7 separate regions of the Homo sapiens genome follow, and all the other regions are linked to region 5. Evidence: promoter capture Hi-C in human tissues and cell types (Jung and others, 2019). All regions are on one chromosome and are shown on one strand. The core of a region is centred on a gene start or on the middle of the fragment in contact, and the rest is flanking DNA. Distances in the headings are between cores, read along the strand shown.

What was found. Contacts are between HindIII fragments. The study calls those that stand out against the background at their distance.
Region 1: a contact is called between a fragment that was not itself captured here and the fragment with the promoter of RP9 in region 5, in 1 of the 25 tissues and cell types used here (dorsolateral prefrontal cortex).
Region 2: a fragment that was not itself captured here is called in contact with the fragment with the promoter of RP9 in region 5 in 3 of the 25 tissues and cell types used here (H1 embryonic stem cells, heart right ventricle and spleen).
Region 3: a fragment that was not itself captured here is called in contact with the fragment with the promoter of RP9 in region 5 in 1 of the 25 tissues and cell types used here (mesendoderm cells).
Region 4: a contact is called between a fragment that was not itself captured here and the fragment with the promoter of RP9 in region 5, in 1 of the 25 tissues and cell types used here (spleen).
Region 6: a contact is called between a fragment that was not itself captured here and the fragment with the promoter of RP9 in region 5, in 1 of the 25 tissues and cell types used here (dorsolateral prefrontal cortex).
Region 7: a fragment that was not itself captured here is called in contact with the fragment with the promoter of RP9 in region 5 in 1 of the 25 tissues and cell types used here (spleen).

Annotation. Positions count from the first base shown.
Region 1 is chr7:32,694,305-32,697,004 of GRCh38, reverse strand. It overlaps the pseudogene DPY19L1P1. Among named protein-coding and RNA genes, the nearest start is that of MIR550A2, 37 kb to the left of the region's middle. The HindIII fragment of the contact is 7,417 bases long and covers 1-2,700 here.
Region 2 is chr7:32,838,555-32,841,448 of GRCh38, reverse strand. It overlaps the pseudogene DPY19L1P2. Among named protein-coding and RNA genes, the nearest start is that of KBTBD2, 52 kb to the left of the region's middle. The HindIII fragment of the contact is 4,977 bases long and covers 1-2,894 here.
Region 3 is chr7:32,817,766-32,820,752 of GRCh38, reverse strand. No RefSeq gene overlaps it. Among named protein-coding and RNA genes, the nearest start is that of LINC00997, 61 kb to the right of the region's middle. The HindIII fragment of the contact is 4,532 bases long and covers 1-2,987 here.
Region 4 is chr7:32,761,848-32,764,547 of GRCh38, reverse strand. It overlaps LINC00997 (long intergenic non-protein coding RNA 997), which reads right to left. Exons shown (of 1, transcript NR_036501.1): 1 at 1,624-2,700. Among named protein-coding and RNA genes, the nearest start is that of LINC00997, 4.9 kb to the right of the region's middle. The HindIII fragment of the contact is 9,731 bases long and covers 1-2,700 here.
Region 5 is chr7:33,107,895-33,110,706 of GRCh38, reverse strand. RP9 (RP9 pre-mRNA splicing factor) reads left to right here and starts at 1,303. Exons shown (of 6, transcript NM_203288.2): 1 at 1,303-1,486. The coding sequence starts at 1,335. RefSeq lists silencers at 928-1,407, 1,418-1,647. The HindIII fragment of the contact is 15,438 bases long and covers 1-2,812 here.
Region 6 is chr7:32,740,626-32,743,563 of GRCh38, reverse strand. No RefSeq gene overlaps it. Among named protein-coding and RNA genes, the nearest start is that of MIR550B2, 9.0 kb to the right of the region's middle. The HindIII fragment of the contact is 3,580 bases long and covers 1-2,938 here.
Region 7 is chr7:32,797,091-32,799,790 of GRCh38, reverse strand. No RefSeq gene overlaps it. Among named protein-coding and RNA genes, the nearest start is that of LINC00997, 40 kb to the right of the region's middle. The HindIII fragment of the contact is 3,512 bases long and covers 1-2,700 here.

The DNA of each region.
Region 1 (2,700 bases), core at 195-2,694, 410 kb after region 5:
TGCACATGTATCCCTGAACTTAAAATTTAAAAATTCTGAAAACAAAAAGGAAATGAAAGAAGGAATCCTAGAATATAGAGAAGAAATATAAAACGCAAAATAGATACACAGAGGGGTAGATATAATAGACTATTCTTCTCATGAGTATTTCCTTTAGTATACTTTTTTTGCTTTATTTTGTTATTTATTTAGATTTTTAAGTCAAGAATTTAATTCATTTATTTTCACTCTTTCATTTTTATTGATAAAGCTTTTGAGGCCATGAATTTGCTTCTTATCCTTGCTTTAAATGTCTTCCTTAGTTTGCATATGGAAATGGTATTGCCTGCCATGCTGATGCCATCATTCTATTTTTCACCTTTCTGAATCTGTTTGTATTTGTCTTCCCTGTGTAGCATAAGTTGAGTCTGTCTTTGCTTTGTGAGATAATGTGAGAACCTTTGTTGTAAGTTTTATGTGTATTTGACTATATTTGCTTTGTTTCTGTATATGATTCTCTTTTAAACTTTTTGTATTTGAGAAGGTTACTATTATTTCCTCAATTATTGCATATTTGAAACTTTTTTTATAACATCTATACTTGAATGACAGATTGGCTAGATATAAAATCCTTGGTTCTCCCTTTTTTTTTTGAGATGGAGTCTTGCTCTGTCGCCCAGGCTGGAGTTCAGTGGCACGATCTTGGCTCACTGCAGCCATAAAAAATGATGAGTTCATGTCCTTTGTAGGGACATGGATGAAACTGGAAACCATCATTCTCAGCAAACTATCACAAAGACCAAAAACCAAACACGGCATGTTCTCACTCATAGGTGGGAATTGAACAATGAGAACACATGGACGTGGGAAGGGGAACATCACACACCGGGGACTGTTGTGGAGTGAGGGGAGGGGGGAGGGATAGCATTAGGAGATACACCTAATGCTAAATGACGAGTTAATGGGTGCAGCATGCCAACATGGCACATGTATACATATGTAACAGACCTGCACGTTGTGCACATGTACCCTAAAACTTAAAGTATAATAATAATAAAAAGAAAATAAGTCGTTATTACCTAATAAGTTTTAAGGTATATAGTGTCTGCAATTTATAGTTTCACCCTAAAGAAATATTGGTACAAATATACCAAGGAAACCAATTACATGAATCTTCATGGAAGCATTATTTGTACCTGAGAAAAAAAAGCTGAAAACAACTCAAAGGCCCACCAACAGAATGGATAAAATGAATATTTCCATACAAAGTAATATTGTAAATGAGTGAATGTGATCTACAGTCAAAAGTGTCAGCGGGAACCAATGTCAAATAGACTGTTAAAGATAAAAAACTAAGTCATCAAAGGGGATGAGTGTGCATGTCAATATATATGCCATTTACATATGCCCTAAAAACAAACAAGACAACAATATTATAGAAGATATAGTGTGGCAAAACAGCGAAAGCATAGGCATAGTTAATTCAAAACAGGCTGGTGATCACTTCTAGGAAAGAATGCAATACAGGAGAAGCCCTGGGTGCTTCAATGTTAATATTCAATTTCTTGGTGTTAAGTATACAAGTGTTCATTTTATAATTCTTTAAAATATGTGTGTATATATGTATATAATGCTTATATATTTATACTCTTCAAAGTAGGGCTTTGATTCCTCATCAGTGGTTCTTAAACCTCATGTTCTCTTTAGGTAGCTCTGGGTGCTTAAATAAGCACCAAGAATTGTTCTGATGACACGTCTAGCTATTCAAATACATGTTCAAATTGTAGATTTTATTGTTTCCATTTGTGCAATGAATTTTTTTCCTTCCAACTTCTATTTTAGGTTCAGGGGTACATTTGCAGGTTTGTTATATAGGTAAATCACATGTCATGGGGTTTGGTGTACAGATTATTTTGTCACCCAGGTAATAAGCATAGTACCTGATAGGTATTTTCTCAGTCCTCACTCTCCTCCCACCCTCCACCCTCAAGTAGGCCCTGGTGCCTGTTATTCCCTTCTTTTTGTCCATGTGTGCTCAATGTTTAGCTCGTACTTATAAGGAGCACATACAGTATTTGGTTTTCTGTTCTGTGTTAGTTCACTTAGGAAACTGGCCTCCAGCTCCATCTGTGTTGCTACAGAGGACATGATCTCATTCTTTTTATATGGCTGTATAGTATTCCATGGTATATATGTACCATATTTTCTTTATCCATTCCGCCGTTGATGGGCATTTAGGTTGATTCCATGTCTTTGCTATTGTGAATAATGCTGCAATGAACATACGTGTATATGTGTTTTTATGGTAGAACAATTTATATTCCTTTGGGTATATATCCAGTAATGGGATTGCTGGGTTGAATGATAGCTCCATTTTAAATTCTTTGAAAAATCTCCAAACTGCTTTCCACGGTGGCCAAACTGGTTTACATTTCTACCAGCAGTGTATAAGTGTTCTCTTTTCTCCAAAACTTCACCAGCATCTTTTTTTTTTTAAACTTTTTCATCATAGCCATTCTGACTGGTGTGAGATGGCATCTTACTGTGGTTTTGATTTGCATTTCTCTAATGATTAGTGATGGTGAACATTTTTTCATATGCTTGTTGCCTACATGCATGTCTCCTTTTGATAAGTGTCTGTTCACATTTTTTGCCCATTTTTAATGAGGCCGTTTGTTTTTGCTTGTTGGTTTAAGTTCCTTTTAGGTACTGGATATTAGA
Region 2 (2,894 bases), core at 222-2,721, 270 kb after region 5:
ATCTCCAGCACACAAGAACTTCCAAACGCCTGAACCGCAGCGGCCAGGCGTTCCTCCAGAACCTCCTCCCCCAGGAGCTTGCTACAAGTGCCAGAAATCTGACCACCAGGCCAAGGAATGCCTGCAGCCCAGGATTCCTCCTAAGCCGTGTCCCATCTGTGTGGGACCCCACTGGAAACCGGACTGTTCAACTCACCTGGCAGCCACTCCCGGAGCCCCTGGAACTCTGGCCCAAGGCTCTCTGACTGACTCCTTCTCGGCTTAGCGGTTGAAGACTCATGCTGCCCGATCGCCTCAGAAGCCCTGTAGACCATCACGGACGCCGAGCTTTGGGTAACTCTCACAGTGGAAGATAAGTCCGTCCCCTTCTTAATCAATACGGAGGCTACCCACTCCACATTACCTTCTTTTCAAGGGCCTGTTTCCCTTGCCTCCATAACTGTTGTGGGTATTGACGGCCAAGCTTCAAAACCCCTGAAAACTCCCCCACTCTGGTGCCAACTTGGACAACACTCTTATGCACTCTTTTTTAGTTATCCCCACCTGCCCAGTTCCCTTATTAGGCCGAGATATTTTAACCAAATTATCTGCTTCCCTGACTATTCCTGGACTACAGCTGCATCTCATTGCCACCCTTCTCCCCAGCCCAAAGCCTCCTTTGCATCTTCCTCTCATATCCCCCCACCTTAACCCACAAATATGGGACATCTCTACTCCTTCCCTGGCAACCGATCACATGCCCATTACCATCCCGTTAAAATCGAATCACCCTTACCCTGCTCAACGCCAATATCCCATCCCACAGCATGCTTTAAAAGGATTAAAGCCTGTTATCACTCGCCTGCTACAGTATGGGCTTCTAAAACCTATAAACTCTCCTTACCATTCCCCCATTTTACCTGTCCTAAAACCAGACAAGGCTTACAAGTTAGTTCAGGATCTGCGCCTTATCAACCAAATTGTTTTGCCTATCCACCCCATGGTGCCCAACCCATATATTCTCCTATCCTCAATACCTCCCTCTATTACCCATTATTCTGTTCTGGATCTCAAACATGCTTTCTTTACTATTTCTTTGCACCCTTCATCCCAGCCTCTCTTTGCCTTCACTTAGACTGACCCTGACACCCATTAGGCTCAGCAAATTACCTGGGCTGTACTGCCGCAAGGCTTCACAGACAGCCCCCATTACTTCAGTCAAGCCCAAATTTCATCCTCATCTGTTACCTATCTCAGCATAATTCTCATAAAAACGCACATGCTCTCCCTGCTGATCGTGTCCGATTAATCTCCCAAACCTCAATCCCTTACAAAACAACAACTCCTTTCCTTCCTAGGCATGGTTAGCATGGTCAGAATTCTTACACAAGAGCCAGGACCACACCCTGCAGCGTTTCTGTCCAAACAACTTGACCTTACTGTTTTAGCCTAGCCCTCATGTCTGCATGCAGCGGCTGCCGATGCTTTAATACTTCTAGAGGCCCTAAAAATCACAAACTATGCTCAACTCACTCTACATTTCTCATAACTTCCGAAATCTTTTTCTTCCTTATACCTGACGCATATACTTTCTGCTCCCCAGCTCCTTCAGCTGTACTCACTCTTTGTTAAGTCCCACAATTACCATTGTTCCTGGCCCGGACTTCAATCTGGCCTCCCACATTATTCCTGATACCACACCTGACCCCCATGACTGTATCTCTCTGATCCACCTGACATTCACCCCATTTCCCCATATTTCCTTCTTTCCTGTTCCTCACCCTGATCACGCTTGATTTATTGATGGCAGTTCCACCAGGCCTAATCGCCACACACCAGCAAAGGCAGGCTATGCTATAGCACAAGCCACTATCCCGCCTCTTAGAACCTCTCATTTCCTTTCCATCGTGGAAATCTATCCTCAAGGAAATAACTTCTCAGTGTTCCATCTGCTATTCTACTACTCCTCAGGGATTATTCAGGCCCCCTCCCTTCCCTACACATTAAGCTCGCTCAATTCATCCAAAACCGTATCCAGGCCATCACCAATCATTCTATACGACAAATGTTTCTTCTAACATCCCCACAATATCACCCCTTACCACAAGACCTCCCTTCAGCTTAATCTCTCCCACTCTAGGTTCCCACGCCACCCCTAATCCCGCTTGAAGCAGCCCTGAGAAACATCACCCATTCTCTCTCCATACCACCCCCCAAAAATTTTCGCCGCCCCAACACTTCAACACTATTTTGTTTTATTTGTCTTATTAATATAAGAAGGCAGGAATGTCAGGCCTCTGAGCCCAGGCCAGGCCATCGCATCCCCTGTGACTTGCACGTATACATTCAGATGGCCTAAAGTAACTGAAGATCCACAAAAGAAGTAAAAACAGCCTTAACTGATGACATTCCACCATTGTGATTTGTTCCTGCCCCACCCTAACTGATCAATGTACTTTGTAATCTCCCCCACCCTTAAGAAGGTTCTTTGTAATTCTCCCCACACTTGAGAATGTACTTTGTGAGATCCACCCCTGCCCACCAGAGAACAACCCCCTTTGATTGTAATTTTCCATTACCTTCCCAAATCCTATAAAATGGCCCCACCCTTATCTCCCTATGCTGACTCTCTTTTTGGACTCAGCCCACCTGCACCCAGGTGAAATAAACAGCCATGTTGCTCACACAAAGCCTGTTTGGTGGTCTCTTCACACGGACGCGCATGAAAGGTATGAGTCATTTTTATAATTAGAATGACATTCAAATTGACCAAATAAAACATTTTCTATTTGAAAACAGTTACCTATAAAAGTTTTTGGGATATGAACAACACATGACTTAGCAAAACATTAAAACCATTAGAGATGTAGTTCTCCGTAGGCAGCAGGTCATGTAGCAGTCATTCTTTTACAACT
Region 3 (2,987 bases), core at 264-2,763, 290 kb after region 5:
TAAGTCTTTACCTCTCCATGATCAAACTGGTGTTTTCTGGAACAGAAAAAAATATATTGCTATCAATTCATTATTGAAGCACTTATTTCATATATTTGCATTTTCATCTTGCAAATAGGAGTTTTACAACTTCTATAACATTCTCTCAGGACACATATAGGCAAATCAAAATAACTAAAAGTTACATGCCAAAACTGGTGCTATACTATTTTAAGAAAATTTATGAAGAATGACAATGTTGTATTATATCCTATTTGACTACATGGGTATTTATTAGGACAACAAAGGCACACTGTGGTGTCCCAGCTCCCTCACTGGTGATAACCCAGCAAAGCATGGAATGAAAAAAACCTTTGAGATTTTCACTAGGCAACCAAGTAGAGATGACAAATAGGTGGTTATATGTGTAAATCTGAGTTCAAGGGAGAAGTCTGTGTCAGAGACAGAAATGTGTGAGTTGACAACGCACACCTTCTCTTTCTTAAGCACTGATATGTTCCCAAGTTCTAGAGTAATACCTGGCACTTACAGCTCAACATTTTTAATGAATGAACAAGTGTATCAATAAACTGTTAATCCAGGCCAGGTGCGGTGGCTCACGCCTGTAATCCCAGCACTTTGGGAGGCTGAGGTGGGCGGATCACAAGGTCAGGAGATCGAGACCATCCTGGCTAACACAATGAAACCCCGTCTCTACCAAAAAAACATACAAAAAATTAGCCAGGTGTGGTGGCGGGCGCCTGTAGTCCCAGCTACTCAGGAGGCTGAGGCAGGAGAATGGCGTGAACTTGGGAGGCGGAGCTTGCAGCGAGCCGAGATAGTGCCGCTGCACTCCATTCTGGGCAACACAGCGAGACTCCGTCTCAAACAAACAAACAAAAAAACAAAAAACTGTTAATCCAGGTAGCATATAATCTAATTTGAGAATTTGGCCTCAAAAAGACTGATATATTAGCAAACTCAGTAGTACATAGGGGGCTAGTGAAGGAGATGAAACAGTTCTTTCTTTATTCTTGTTTCACTCCACATAAAAACTATCAGTTACCATTTGTTGAGTACTTACAATGTTAATATGCTTAGTACATTCCATTAACTCTAATCCTACAACCATTTATTACCCCAATTTACAGCCAAGGAAAGGGAATCACAGAGCTGCTAAGTGGCAGCCAGGACTATATTCTGCCTGACTTCAGAGCCAATATACTTTTTACTACATCATGCTGCCTCTAACCCACTTTACTTCCTGGGTCTTTGAGTAAAGAGAATATTGGCATTCACGTCTTTCATAGTTAAAATTTATGTCCTACTCTTCTCCTTTTTACACTGGCTTTGGTAGCTATGCAAAATAAAATGTCAACATTGCCACTCCTCTTCCAAAAAAGAGCTCTGATCCTATTTGAACTGAAAACCCCATGAAGCTTAATGGTTTCCTATAATTATTTCTATAGGTGAGTTATTACTCTTGAAGGGACAGCTTTGTTTCTGTGAGAAGTTCCACCTTCCTCTTCCAGAGCTGCATACTACAGCTGAAACTTTGTAGCTTCTTCCTGAGCTCTTCAAAAGTAATTTCACCTCAAATGAAGAAAAATTTCGGCATTGTAAACCAGAACGTTTTTCTTTCCCCCTTAGCCCTCAACTCAAATGTTACAGGTATAAACATATACCTGTATATGTTACAGTAAATTGTTTCTAAGTGAGAACAAGGATTCTCTCAGGAGTATGTGCAATAATTTATCATTATGTTGGCAGAGACTTGGAGGTGAGGGAATAATATAAGGGTGTGTATATTCAAATTATAAAAGAAAATATAGGGCCAGGTGAGGTGGCTCATGCCTATAATCCCAGCACTTTGGGAGGCTGAGGCAGGCAGATCACGACATCATGAGTTCAAGACCAGCCTGGCCAATATGGTGAAACCCTGTCTCTACTAAAAATACAAAAATAAGCTAGGCATGGTGGTGGTCGCCTGTAGTCTTAGCTATTCAGGAGGCTGAGGCAGATGAAATTGCCTGAACCCGGGAGGCAGAGGTTGCAGTGAGCCAAGATCGTGCCACTGCACTCCTCCAGCCTGGGCGACAGAGCCAGGCTCTGTCTCAAAAAAAAAAAAAAAAAAAAAAAGAACAGAAAATATAGATACATACATTAGACAATCCTTGTCCTCCCAAAATCCTACAAAAGAATAAAAGTAAAGTTAAAACTACCTTCACTCCATCTTCCAATCCCACACTCTTAATAATTACAGGATTTATCTTTCCAGATCACTTCTATGCACAAACACATAAAAATCTCCAAATTTTAAACAGAAGTATAATCATCCTATACACACACACACACACACACACACACACACACACACACACACACACACACACACAGAGGCAATTTTTAAAATTCAATAATGTATACTGGACCTATTTCCAGAAAGATGGCCTAACATTCCACTCTATGATTGGATCATAGTAGATATTTTGGATGTTTCCATTTCTCACATTACACACAATACTACAAAAGACATTTCTCCCCATCATCTCTGTATTTCTGTGAGCATCTCTGGAGAGTACACTTGCGCTGGTAGAACCTGCAGGGCTAAAGTACAGGCCCACTATATGTTTTACTGTTTATTGCCAAATTTCCCTCCCATCTACTACCTCCCACTCTTGCAAGCATTGGGTATACTATTAATTTTTAGAAATATGAGAAGTGAAAAGGTCTTCACTTCAACCTGAATGTCTTTACCATAGGATCAAGACTACCTTTTCATGTTCATTAGTCATATGTAAATACTCACTCATTCAACTACTATCCTTTACTATCTTGCAGGCACTGTATATAAACTGTTGAACAAAAATGATCCCTCCCTTCAGGAGATACAGGTCACACATCAACATTTAAGTACAAAGGGTGATAAATGGTAAGAGAGTAAGATGAAAGGGTGTGATGGCAGAAAATACCAAGCATACTGTAGGCCTCCCTAACTCTCAGATTAT
Region 4 (2,700 bases), core at 40-2,539, 350 kb after region 5:
TGCTTCATTATATGAATGTTTCATAACTTAGTGTTTGGCATTGAGGCCATTTCTATTTTTTCAACGATATAAATAATAGCACAATGAACATTCTTATAAAAAGATTAATTTTTTAAATGATAAAATGACCAGATTTGCACTTTCAAGGACTAGATCATGGGTAAGAGCATATTTTATCCCACCAGGACACCAAGTGATGCAAAAGGCAGTTGGAAACTCCAGAAGAAACAAACTGACTAAAAAGAAAAACAATCACTCCACTTCACTTATTGTTGCAAAAAAATTAAAAAGTCATACTTTAAAATAAGGTCCTTTATTTTGAGTTTGCCTAGCCATTCAAGAATATATTCTTAACAACCACCATAAATACTTTGTATTTTAAATGCAGTATTGGACAGATAGAATTTATTAGCTGTTAAAACTTGGGCAAATAACTACATCCTGATGCTTGATTTTAAAATTTGCATATAGTTATTGCATGAATTAAGTAAGAAAACATTTTGAGCACCAAACACAATGCCAGGAATGTAGAAATGCTCCTTAAAAAAAAATCTCCCAAAACAAGAAATGAACAGTAATAGCACTTACTGAATTTAAATGAATGACAAGATAAATAGTACTGTCAGTTAAGTGCTCTAGACCTTCAGAAAAAGCATAATTAATATGGACTGGAGAAATGGGCTGGGGCTTGGAAGGTGATAGCATTCAGATGGGCAGGGAGAAAAGGATGTAAAAGCCAAGGGGTGGCTTTTCCATATGAGTAAAGGAATTCAGCAGTTATGGTGTCTCAGGCTGTGGACCTCACCTGAAATGACTGGGATGGAAGATTTGTGCCTGAGGAAGTGGGAAATTAAAGTTGAAAAGGTATATTGGGCAATTATTGAAGGCATTGGTGAGCAAGCCTAGGACTTGATTTGTGGGCTATGGGGAGCCATGAACATTTTTGTGCTGTGTTGCATCAGGAAAAATTAACCTGGCCACAATGAGCCATGATTTAGACTGGTCAGTTAGGATATGGGAGTTCAATTTGATCCATCATCAGACAGATGGGAAGTGAAGCGGTGTGGGCTCCATCCAGCATATGGCCCGTGACAAGAGGACATGGAAAATGTCAGTGGCCCCAGTGCATCTGTGCCAGCCGCTTTGGCCTCCTGTAGGGCTGCGCGGTGACTGGGAGCTAAGGGCTCCCCTCTTAGTTGGTCCTGGCTGGTGCTGAAAGCGCTTGAGCACACCGCTCCTAGGGCTGACGACTTCTGAGGAACCTTATTTTAAAAGCATTTTGCTTTAAGATTCAGTAAACGCTGTCCCATGCCAAGGAATTGGCGTCAACCTGAGGCTCTGGGATCAGACCCACCGGACTCAGGCCGGCTCTGCCACGTGTTGCCCGCAGTCTCGGCCCGTTCCCTCCGCATTGACAGCGGGCACTGACTGTCCGATACCCCAGCGATCGTAGGAGAGCAGAGACGTTCCTAATGCCGCGGGCACCACGGGCGGGCCTGCGGGTCCGTTGGCTTTCCTGACACACTTCCTACAGTCATTTCTTTCAGCTGAGATCTTCCCCTTTAATACTTCGTTAATTTGTGGCAGGACGAGTCGCAGACAAAACTCCTCAGACACCAGATTAAAGAAGGAAGAGGTTTTTTATTCGGCCGGGAGCGTCGGCAGACTCGTGTCTTAAGAGCGGAGCTCCCCGAAAAAGAAATTCCTAGGCCTTTTAAGGGCTTACAACTCTAAGGGGTCTACGTGAAAAAGTCATAATAGATCAAGTAAGCGTGAAAAACGTGACTGGGGGCTACATACATCAGCTAACAGAACAAAAAGTTTTACAGTACTTTCTCATACAGTGTCTGGAATTTACACATAACACCAATAGTTTTGGTCAGGGGTTAATAATATTATTATTATTTTAGCCACCAGGGCCAGGTGGTGGTGCCAAGGTCCTCCAGCTATTTATCTTACTTCTGTTTCTTTCTAACTTTTTGCTTTCTCCCTTTTCTCCTGTCTTATAAAATAGGGAATAGGAGAGGTTGGGGAGAAACTGAGAAGGACAATAGGAGAAGTGGTGACCTCATACCATAAATTAACGTGTAACCTTTTGGTTAAAATGTCAAAGCTAAGACTAAACTCGAAGAAAAGAATTAAATCACGGGAAGTTCTTCAGACTTAGTCGCCAGCAAGGTTATGGCCCGAAGTGGTGCAGGGGCGGCACGCGGGGAAGCGACTGGCAGAGCTGTGCGCACTGGGGGTGCTGCAGGCGCTGGGGAGAGTGTGGAGAGGCTGCGTGGAGCTGCGCGCTCGGGGTGGGGGCTGCACTCCCAGTGAAGCGCGTGAAGGGCGAGCGGTGATGGGTTCTGCGCCAGTGGGGCTGGGAGCGTGTGGGGGGCTGTACGTGCAGCTGCCGCAAGGTGGAGAGTGCACGTGTGGGCTTGGGGACTACGCGCACCGGGGGCTGAAGGCGTTGGGGAGGGTGTGGGGGGCTGTGCGTGGGGCTGCCCTCACTGGAAGCTGCACGCTCAGGGAAGCTCGGAGGCGGGGGTCCTGCGAGTGCTGGGGAGCACGTGGGGGGACACGCAGGGACTGCCCGCGCAAATGGCTTCGAACGCATGCTCCCCACCCCACATTTCACAGTCGCCATGACGACCAGGAGGTCCGCAAGGGCTGCGGGGACAAGTCCGTTGAGGCTGCCAGGCAAGTCAGGCC
Region 5 (2,812 bases), core at 54-2,553:
GCATAGCGAGACCCCGTCTCTACAAAATAAAAAACTTTAAAAAGTTAAAAAGAATTTTGGAAAGAGCAGTATCACATAGAAAATTAATGAGACTGTATCATCGAGGAGAGCCATGTCCTAAAAGAAAAAAAAAAAAGCTATTCATCATGATGCAAGACTTCAAAATATGTTAATCATCATAAAAGTTGGGCAGTTCATGTGGACAATCGCCATGCAATTGCCCATAATCTATCCCTGCAATACACTTTTTCTATGTTGAATTTTCTTTTTAGTTTGCTTTCGTTTTTCTATTTTCTCTTTTAGCTTTTTCATTATTGTAAATTGTCAGCATTATGTTTTACAATTCACTATGCTATGTATTACATCTTAACATCATTTCTAATACTGGAGGCATCAACTATATAAAGACTTTTAGAGAGTTCAAATTTGTTTTATGCATTTTTTGCAAATATGACTCAATCAAAGCTCATTATTACAATGGTGACTGTGTAAGCATTCTACATATATGCAAAAATGTAGAAATTTCCTCGATAAATAAATAAGTGTCTTTTCTGTACATCTGCATTTGTGAAAGATGAAATTTCTCAGGATCTTGGCTCCTCGGGTGACTGGCACAGTGGTGACGTCATGGTGACCCATCCTGTCAAAAGAGTTAGGTTGTCTCTCATGGTATATCAGATGACCGCAGTTATAAAGCTGGGTGCACACTATTACCGAACATAATTATATGTTTATACATTTCACTTTTTGAACACTTTTTTTTTTTTTTTTCTGAGAGACAATCTCGCTTTTTCGCCCAGACTGGAGTGCAGGGGCACCATCTCGGCTCACTGCAACCTCTGCCTCCTGGGTTCAAGCAATTCTCCTGCCTCAGCCACCCAAGTAGCTGGGACTACTGGCGCCCGCCACCACGCCTGGCTAATTTGAACATTTTTTTATGAATACATTTCATCTGCTCATCCCTATGTGACTGTTGCTAGTATACCTGAGGTGGGTGTGGCCGGGCGGGAACCTCCAGGCTCCCAACTAGCGCCTCGCCCCGCTTCGGCTCCAGCTAGGCGGCGCTCCCCACCCACCCGCAGCAGCCCGCCTGGCGGCTGGGCCCGAGACCCGGAGCCCCTGACTTGGGGCCCGACGCGGGGAGGCGGGGATCGGGTGGCCGAGGCTGAGACTTCGGGGCCGCCGGGGTGAGTTGCGGGGCGGCGGCGGGAGGGGGCGCTGCGAAGCCCCGCGACCGCCGCGCGGAGGAAGTGCTCTCTTGGCTGCCGCCGCCGCCGCCGCCGCCGCCGGAGCCGCGCCGCGGGGGTTGCCCGAGCGGCGCTGCGGGGGCTGACATGTCGTCCCGGCCTGGGCGCGAGGACGTGGGGGCTGCGGGCGCGCGGCGGCCGCGTGAGCCGCCGGAGCAGGAGCTGCAGCGACGTCGGGAGCAGAAGCGGCGGCGACACGACGCGCAGCAGCTGCAGCAGCTCAAGCACCTGGAGTCCTTGTGAGTCCCGAGCTGCCGTCCGCGCGCGGCCAGTCTTCTGAAGCCAGGGGCCCGGGGCGCGGGACGCCGCGGTGGGCGCTAGGCCGGGTCCTCCGAGCCCCCGCGAGCAGGCAGGGGGGCTGGGCCCGGCAGGAGCCTGGTGCGGGCGACCGATGTCGGGCGCCGCGGTCAAGGACTTGAAGTCCATCCTCCTGGCGGGGCGTTCAGGGAGCCAACTGCCGCTCGGCACCAAGCAGAATCTGACTTGGGAGGCCCTGCGCTTCCCTAGCTCCAGGGGGTTCCAGGAGAGTCCAAATGACCCGGGAGAGTGTGGTGTAAAGAAGATTCAAATGTAGGGGAAGGAAATATGGTTTCCCTCTACCCTTCTAAGTTCTTAAGCTGGGCCACAAATTAAATTGTCATAAGACAGATTAACAGGAGAAAAACTTTTAATTATGTACCCGTGCACTAGAGGGCCACAAAAGTGGGAGACAAAGAAGGGCCAGGGAATAGGGGCGTGGGCCTTTTGGGGCGTGGTGGAGACCTTTTGGAAGGGTGATGGGGGAAATGTATGGTGAATAAAGGTTGCTTTGTTATCCCGATGAGGCGCTCAGGCGATAAAAGTTGCCCCCAAGCAGCTGTCTTCCTGATACAGATACATTTACTACAGAAAATTTCCTTTATAGGTGTAAATTTCTGTTTACAACAGGCGAGTCGAAAAATAATAAGAACAAAAGGAAAAAAAGCAGTCATACTTTATTTTAGGCAGTTGAGGGGTAGCTGAATAAGTTATCCTGTGTTGTTTGGTTCTGTTACTTATAGCTCAAAGTCATCAATATGCCAGGGTGGCATGTTTGGGGATGGTGCATTCTTGTCTTTTGCAGTCATTTATCAGGGTGGCGTTTCCTAAATTCTAACACAGACCTCGAGTGGAAAGTTCAGGCAGCAACTCTTTCAGTTCTTGTCCGTGATTCTATAATTAGCTGCATAAAACAACCTTTTCTAAGTGTGGCATTCACTCAGTTATTCAAGAATTCGTTTCTGTTTTAGCCACTTCTAGTTACCTGTGCTAAGTAGGTGTTAAGTATAGCCTAACGCTGCCTCCTTGAATATTTTAAGTTTAGCCTAAAAGTTTCTCTGTACTTAGTGAACTGTAACCTAAGTAGATGTGTAAACAGACTGTAACCTACTGTTATAAGTACCTGAGTCTCAGACAATCACAGCAGCTGATTTTCAGGCCGTCACAGGTGGTCAGCCTTTGAAACCCTGTTCAAAGAAGGCAAACGCCAGGCTGTATGGAATCCAGCTATTTCTCTACCTCATTTGCTTTTCTGTACATCACTTTCC
Region 6 (2,938 bases), core at 410-2,909, 370 kb after region 5:
TTGGAAGTGGAGAGCAGTCTTCACCAGACACTAAATCTGCTAGCGCCTTGATCTTGGACTTTCTTGGACTCCAGAATTCTTAGACTCCAGAATTGTAAGATATAAATTTCTATTTTTTTTCAGTTTTGCCAATTTTATTGAACCAATAAAATTCCTACTAATAATGATGAAATAATTTCTGCAAGTATAAATGTGATAGTTTAACAAAACCCATTGTTCTGTAACTATACATAGATTTTCAAAATGTCATAAGAAGTGCAGTTATGAATTGTTAACATGTTAATACACAGTTCCTTTATTCCAGCACTTTGGGAGGCCGAGGCAGGCAGATCACCTGAGGTCAGGAGTTCGAGACCAGCCTGGCCAACATGGTAAAACCCTGTCTCTACTAAAAATACAAAAATTAGCCAAGCATGGTGGTACACACCTGTAATCTCAGCCACTTGGGGGGCTGAGACAGGAGAATTGCTTGAACCCAGGAGACAGGTTGCAGTAAACCGAGATGGTGCCACTGCACTCTAGCCTGGGCAACAGAGTGAGACTCTGTCTCAAAAAAAAGAAAAAAAAAGCTTGAAAACCATTAGATTCCTTAGAGGACTAGTTGAACATGTTCATACCAGAGGACTGAAAGTGACTTTCACTTTTTTTGAATGATCTGAATTTTTTTTTTTTTTTTGAGACATAGTTTCGCTCTTGTTGCCCAGGCTGGAGTGCCATGGTGCGATTTCAGCTCACTGCAACCTACGCCTCCTGGGTTCAAGCAATTCTCCTGCCTCAGCCTCCCGAGTCGCTGGAAATTACAGGCATGCATCACTATGCCCGGCTAATTTTTGTAGAGACAGGGTTTCACCATGTTAGTCCGGCTGGTCTCAAACTCCCGAGCTGAGGTGATCCACCCGCCTCGGCCTCCCAAAGTGCTGGGATTACAGGCGTGAGCCACCACGCCCAGCTGCATCATCTAAATTTTTATAGGAGCGAATTCTTATTTCTTCTGCAATTAAAAAAAGAAAACTTCTAAGTAAAGATAATTAGTTGTACACATTCATTAGCTTCCGCTCAGTCCAAACATCCTACTAAAATGATAAAAATGTAATTTTTAAAGGGAATACGCCTATAAAAAATTCAAGAAGATGAAATAAAAAGCAGTACCTTTAGACTCTGGAAAGAAAATTAATGAGTAATAATTTTCACTGCAGAACTAGGAAAGCAGAGAAGCAAACTGCTTTACAGCAGGCACAAGAATTGGCAAGCACAAGATATCTCTGGAAGCAGGGGTGAAGGCAGGCCTAAAAGAGAAAGATTCATCGCCAGTCTGTGTGGAAGCCGTGAGATCTCCCAGTTGTCCTCCCTGACTTGCAGCAGCTAAGCAACCCCAACCCTGGCACTCTACTACAAATTTGTTATTAGGAGAGGGAAAAGTTTCTAGACTTGCAGACAACAGGAATAGCTGAAGGCAGAGGTCCTGTATTGATACTAAATATGGAGATTAAATGAAAGTATCACTTTGAGTATTAAGACTCTCAATCTTATTCTTACTCTGCTCCTAGACCACTAGCAGAAACGATTGTGTCTTCCAGGCAAGAAAAGCCATTTCTGGAAAATATGACCAGCCCAAGAGAAAAGACAGTAATATTCCTAAGAAAATGGCCCAGACAGAGGACATTACATGCACAGAGAGCTTCCAATTTGCTTTTTAGTGCCCCCCACTTTAAAAGTATCAGGAGTAGGCCAAAGATCACCAAACATTTAAAGAAAATATCTAACAAAAGAATGAAGCCAAACAAACAGAAAAAGCAAGTGGGAAGAAACTGAGTCATCAGGAAAGGGAACAAAGCATACACATACATATATATACATACACATACATATATAGACTTATACACAAACAGATGCACATGTAAATACGCATCAGTAATATTCTTAGAAAAAGATATTGTACCCACAAAACAAAAATGGAATATATGAAAAAAACATTATTTTTTTAAAGACCTCAGAAATTTTAAAAAACATTAAAAATTAAGTTAAAAATTAAAATTACAGAAACAAATAAAAACTGACAAAAGAGTTATAAGATCACATTTTTAAAAGTCCCTATCTGGGCATGGTGGCATGCACCTGTAATCCCAACTACTCAAGAGGCTGAGGCAGGAGGATCACTTGAGCCCAGGAGTTTAAGGCTGCAGTGAGCTAGGATCACATGACTATACTCCAACCTAGGTGACAGAGCCTCAAGACCTTGTCTTTAATTAAATAAATAAATCCCTCAAAAGAAAAAAAGAACAAAAACCAAAGACATAAAAAAATTGAAGAGAAAAAAGAAAAAGCAAAGGATTACTCTAGGTGTACAACATCTAAATCATCAAAGAAAAAAATGGCAAAAAAAAAAAAAATCACAGAAAGCAGCTGACTCAAAGAGCCTACCAAATATGTTGCACAATGAATGAAAAGAGTTCCCTCCCATGGCATGTAATAATGAAATTTTCATACAAAGGATCAAAAACCATAATGACATCTATGTGCTCAACAGCAACACTAGAAGCCAGAAGGCAACAAGGCAACACATTTTAAATTCTCAGGGAAAATAACTTCAACCTAGAATTCTATATCAAGTCAAAGTACTAATCAAAAATGAGGGCAGAAATAAAATATTTTCAGGAATGGAAGCCTCAAAAAAATTTTACCTTACACATATTCTTTCTCAGTAGGAACTATGAGATTATATCAACTAAAAACAATGGAGAACATCAAGAAAGAAGACACATAAATTCAAGGAACCAGGAAACTGAACATAAGAGAGAAGCAGGCAAATACAATTTCCAAGATGATGATGAACAAAGAGGGATCTCATAGGATAATCATTTCAGAACAGGGTAGGTCAGAGGGTCTCAAAAGAGACTTTAACAAGAAAATGAAATTCAGGCAATACTCATTATATGAA
Region 7 (2,700 bases), core at 9-2,508, 310 kb after region 5:
CGTTATAATCAGCCCATCCATTTCTGCAAAAAAAGGAAAAAAAACATAGTGGTGGTTTGATAACAATTGCATTGAATCTGCAGACCAATTTGGAGAGAATTACCAACTTACCAATATCAACTCCTCCAAACTATGAACATGGTATATTTCTCTCTTCAGATCTTTTTAAATCTCTCTCAGCAATGTTATATAGTGTACAGTTCTTATACATCTCTTGTTGAATTTATTGCTAAATGGTTTTCTTTAATGACACTGTTAATTTTTTTATGGCTGGGCACAGTAACATAATCCCAGCCCTTTGGGAGATCAAAGTGGGCAAATTGCTTGAGCCCAGGAGTTTGAGACCAGCCTGGGCAACATGACAAAACCCCATCTCTACAAAAAATATGAAAATTAGCCGGGCATGGTAGCTTGTGCCTGCAGTCTCAGGTACTCAGGAGGCTGCAGTGGGAGGACTGATTGAGACTGGGAGGTTGAGGCTGCAGTTAACCATGATGGCACCACTGCACTCCAGCTTGGGTGACAGAGTGAGACCTTACCTCAAAAAAAAAATGTTTTTTAATAGTTGATAGTACATACAATGCAGTTGTTTATTGACTTTTTTTTTTTTTTTCAGAGATGAGGTCTTGCTCTGTTGCCCAGGCTAGCCTTGAACTACAGGGCTTAAGTGACCCTCCCACGTCAGCCACCTCAGTAGCTGGGACTGCAGGCATGAGCCACCAAGCTTGGCTTATATTGGTCTTTATCTTGTAATCCGGCTACGTTATTATTTCTAGAGTTTTTGTTTTGTTTTTTGAGACTCCTTCAAAGCCATATGCCTTTTCATTTTTCCTTAAACTATTGAGGGTTAAATTTTTTCTTTTCCTTGTCTTATTGCCTCAGTTAGGACTTCCAGTACAATTGTGAATAGAGGTGGTGAAAGCTGACATCTTTGTTTAGCTCCTGATGGTAGGGGGAAAGTTTTCCATCTTTCACTATTATACATATTAGCTGTAGATTTTTCATAGATGTTCCTCATCAGGTTGAGGAAGTTTCTTTCTCTTCCTAATTTGGTGAGTTTTAATCATAAATGGGTCCTCTAATTTGTCAAATAATTTTTCTATGTATTAGTCCATTTTCACACTGCTATTAAGAGCTACCTGAGAGTGGGCAGTTTATAAAGAAAAGATGTTTAATTGACTCACAGTTCCACATGGCTGGAGAGGCCTCAGGAAACTTACAATTATGGCAGAAGGCAAAGGAGAAACAAGCCATATCTTACATGGCGACGAGAGAGAGAGAAGAGAGAGAGGAGAGAGACAAAGGAGAGAAGGAGAGAGAGAGAGAGCAAGTGCAAAGGGGGATGTGCCACACTTTTAAACCATCATATCTAGTGAGAACTCACTATCACAAGAACAGCATGGAGAACTGCCCCCATGATCCAGTCACCTCCCACCAGTTCCCTACCCTAACATGTGCGGACTAAAAATTCCACATGAGGCCGGGCGCAGTGGCTCATGCCGGTAATCCCAGCACTTTGGGAGGCCGAGGCGAGCGAATCACCTGAGATCGGGAGTTGGAGACCAGCCTGACCAACATGGTGAAACCCTGTTTCTACTAAAATACAAAAAATTATCCAGGTGCACAGGCGTGGTGGCGCACGCCTGTAGTCCCAGCTACTAGGGAGGCTGAGGCAGGACAATAGCTTGAACCCGGGAGGCGGAGGGTGCAGTGAGCCGACATCACCCCACTGCACTCCAGCCTGGTGACAGAGCAAGACTCTGTATATATATATAAAAAAAAATTCCACATGCGATTTTGGTGGGGACACAGAGCCAAACCATATCAGTATCTATTGGCACAGTCCTATGGTTTTTGTCCTTTATTCTGTTAGTATGGTATGTGATTTTCTGATATTAAAGCAATCTTTTATTTATGAGATAAACTCTACTTGTTTATATCATTTTTATATGTTGGGAAGTTTTTTTTTTTTTTTAATTCCAACTCATTTGATGGTTATTTGACAAATCCTTTCTCCATGGTGTCAGAGACATTTCAGTACTAATTAGAATTCCAAAATAGTTGCCTGAATGACTTTACTGAAATTAAATTTTTCTTCATGACCTATACACTCCTTTACATAGGTTTTGTTCAGTTCTGTGCTTGTTATGTGCCACACACTTTTAGGTGTTGAAGATAAAGAGATAAATAGGGTAGACACAAGCCCTTGCCCTCACAGCAGTGAAGACAATCAAAATGACTAATACAGTTGGGTGTTAAGTAATATGAGGTGCATTTGAAATTTAAACAAAAGGAACCAAGATAGAATTTTTGTTAAAGCCTCCTGGAGGAAGTTACATGAGGTGTAAATTGAACTTAACCAGGGTTACCATATCATTTACCATCCAAACAGGCACACTTTTGAGAGTGATAGTGAAAACAAGCATAAACTAGGATGTATGGTTACCTAAGATTTAACCAGTCCATGGGGAATGGTGCTTAAGGCAGAAAAAACTGTATGAAAAGAAGGCCCATTAAAGTAACTAAAACATTCAATTTGGTCAGTTTGTAAATTGTGAAGAAGGAAATTAGTCCAGAAAAGCAAGCAAAGACCAGATTCAAAAGGCCTTATAAATCAGAAAATAACCTGGATTTTATTTCAAGGGTAATAAATGTTCTAAACAAAAGCATGACATTAAAATTGTATTGAAAAATATCTGA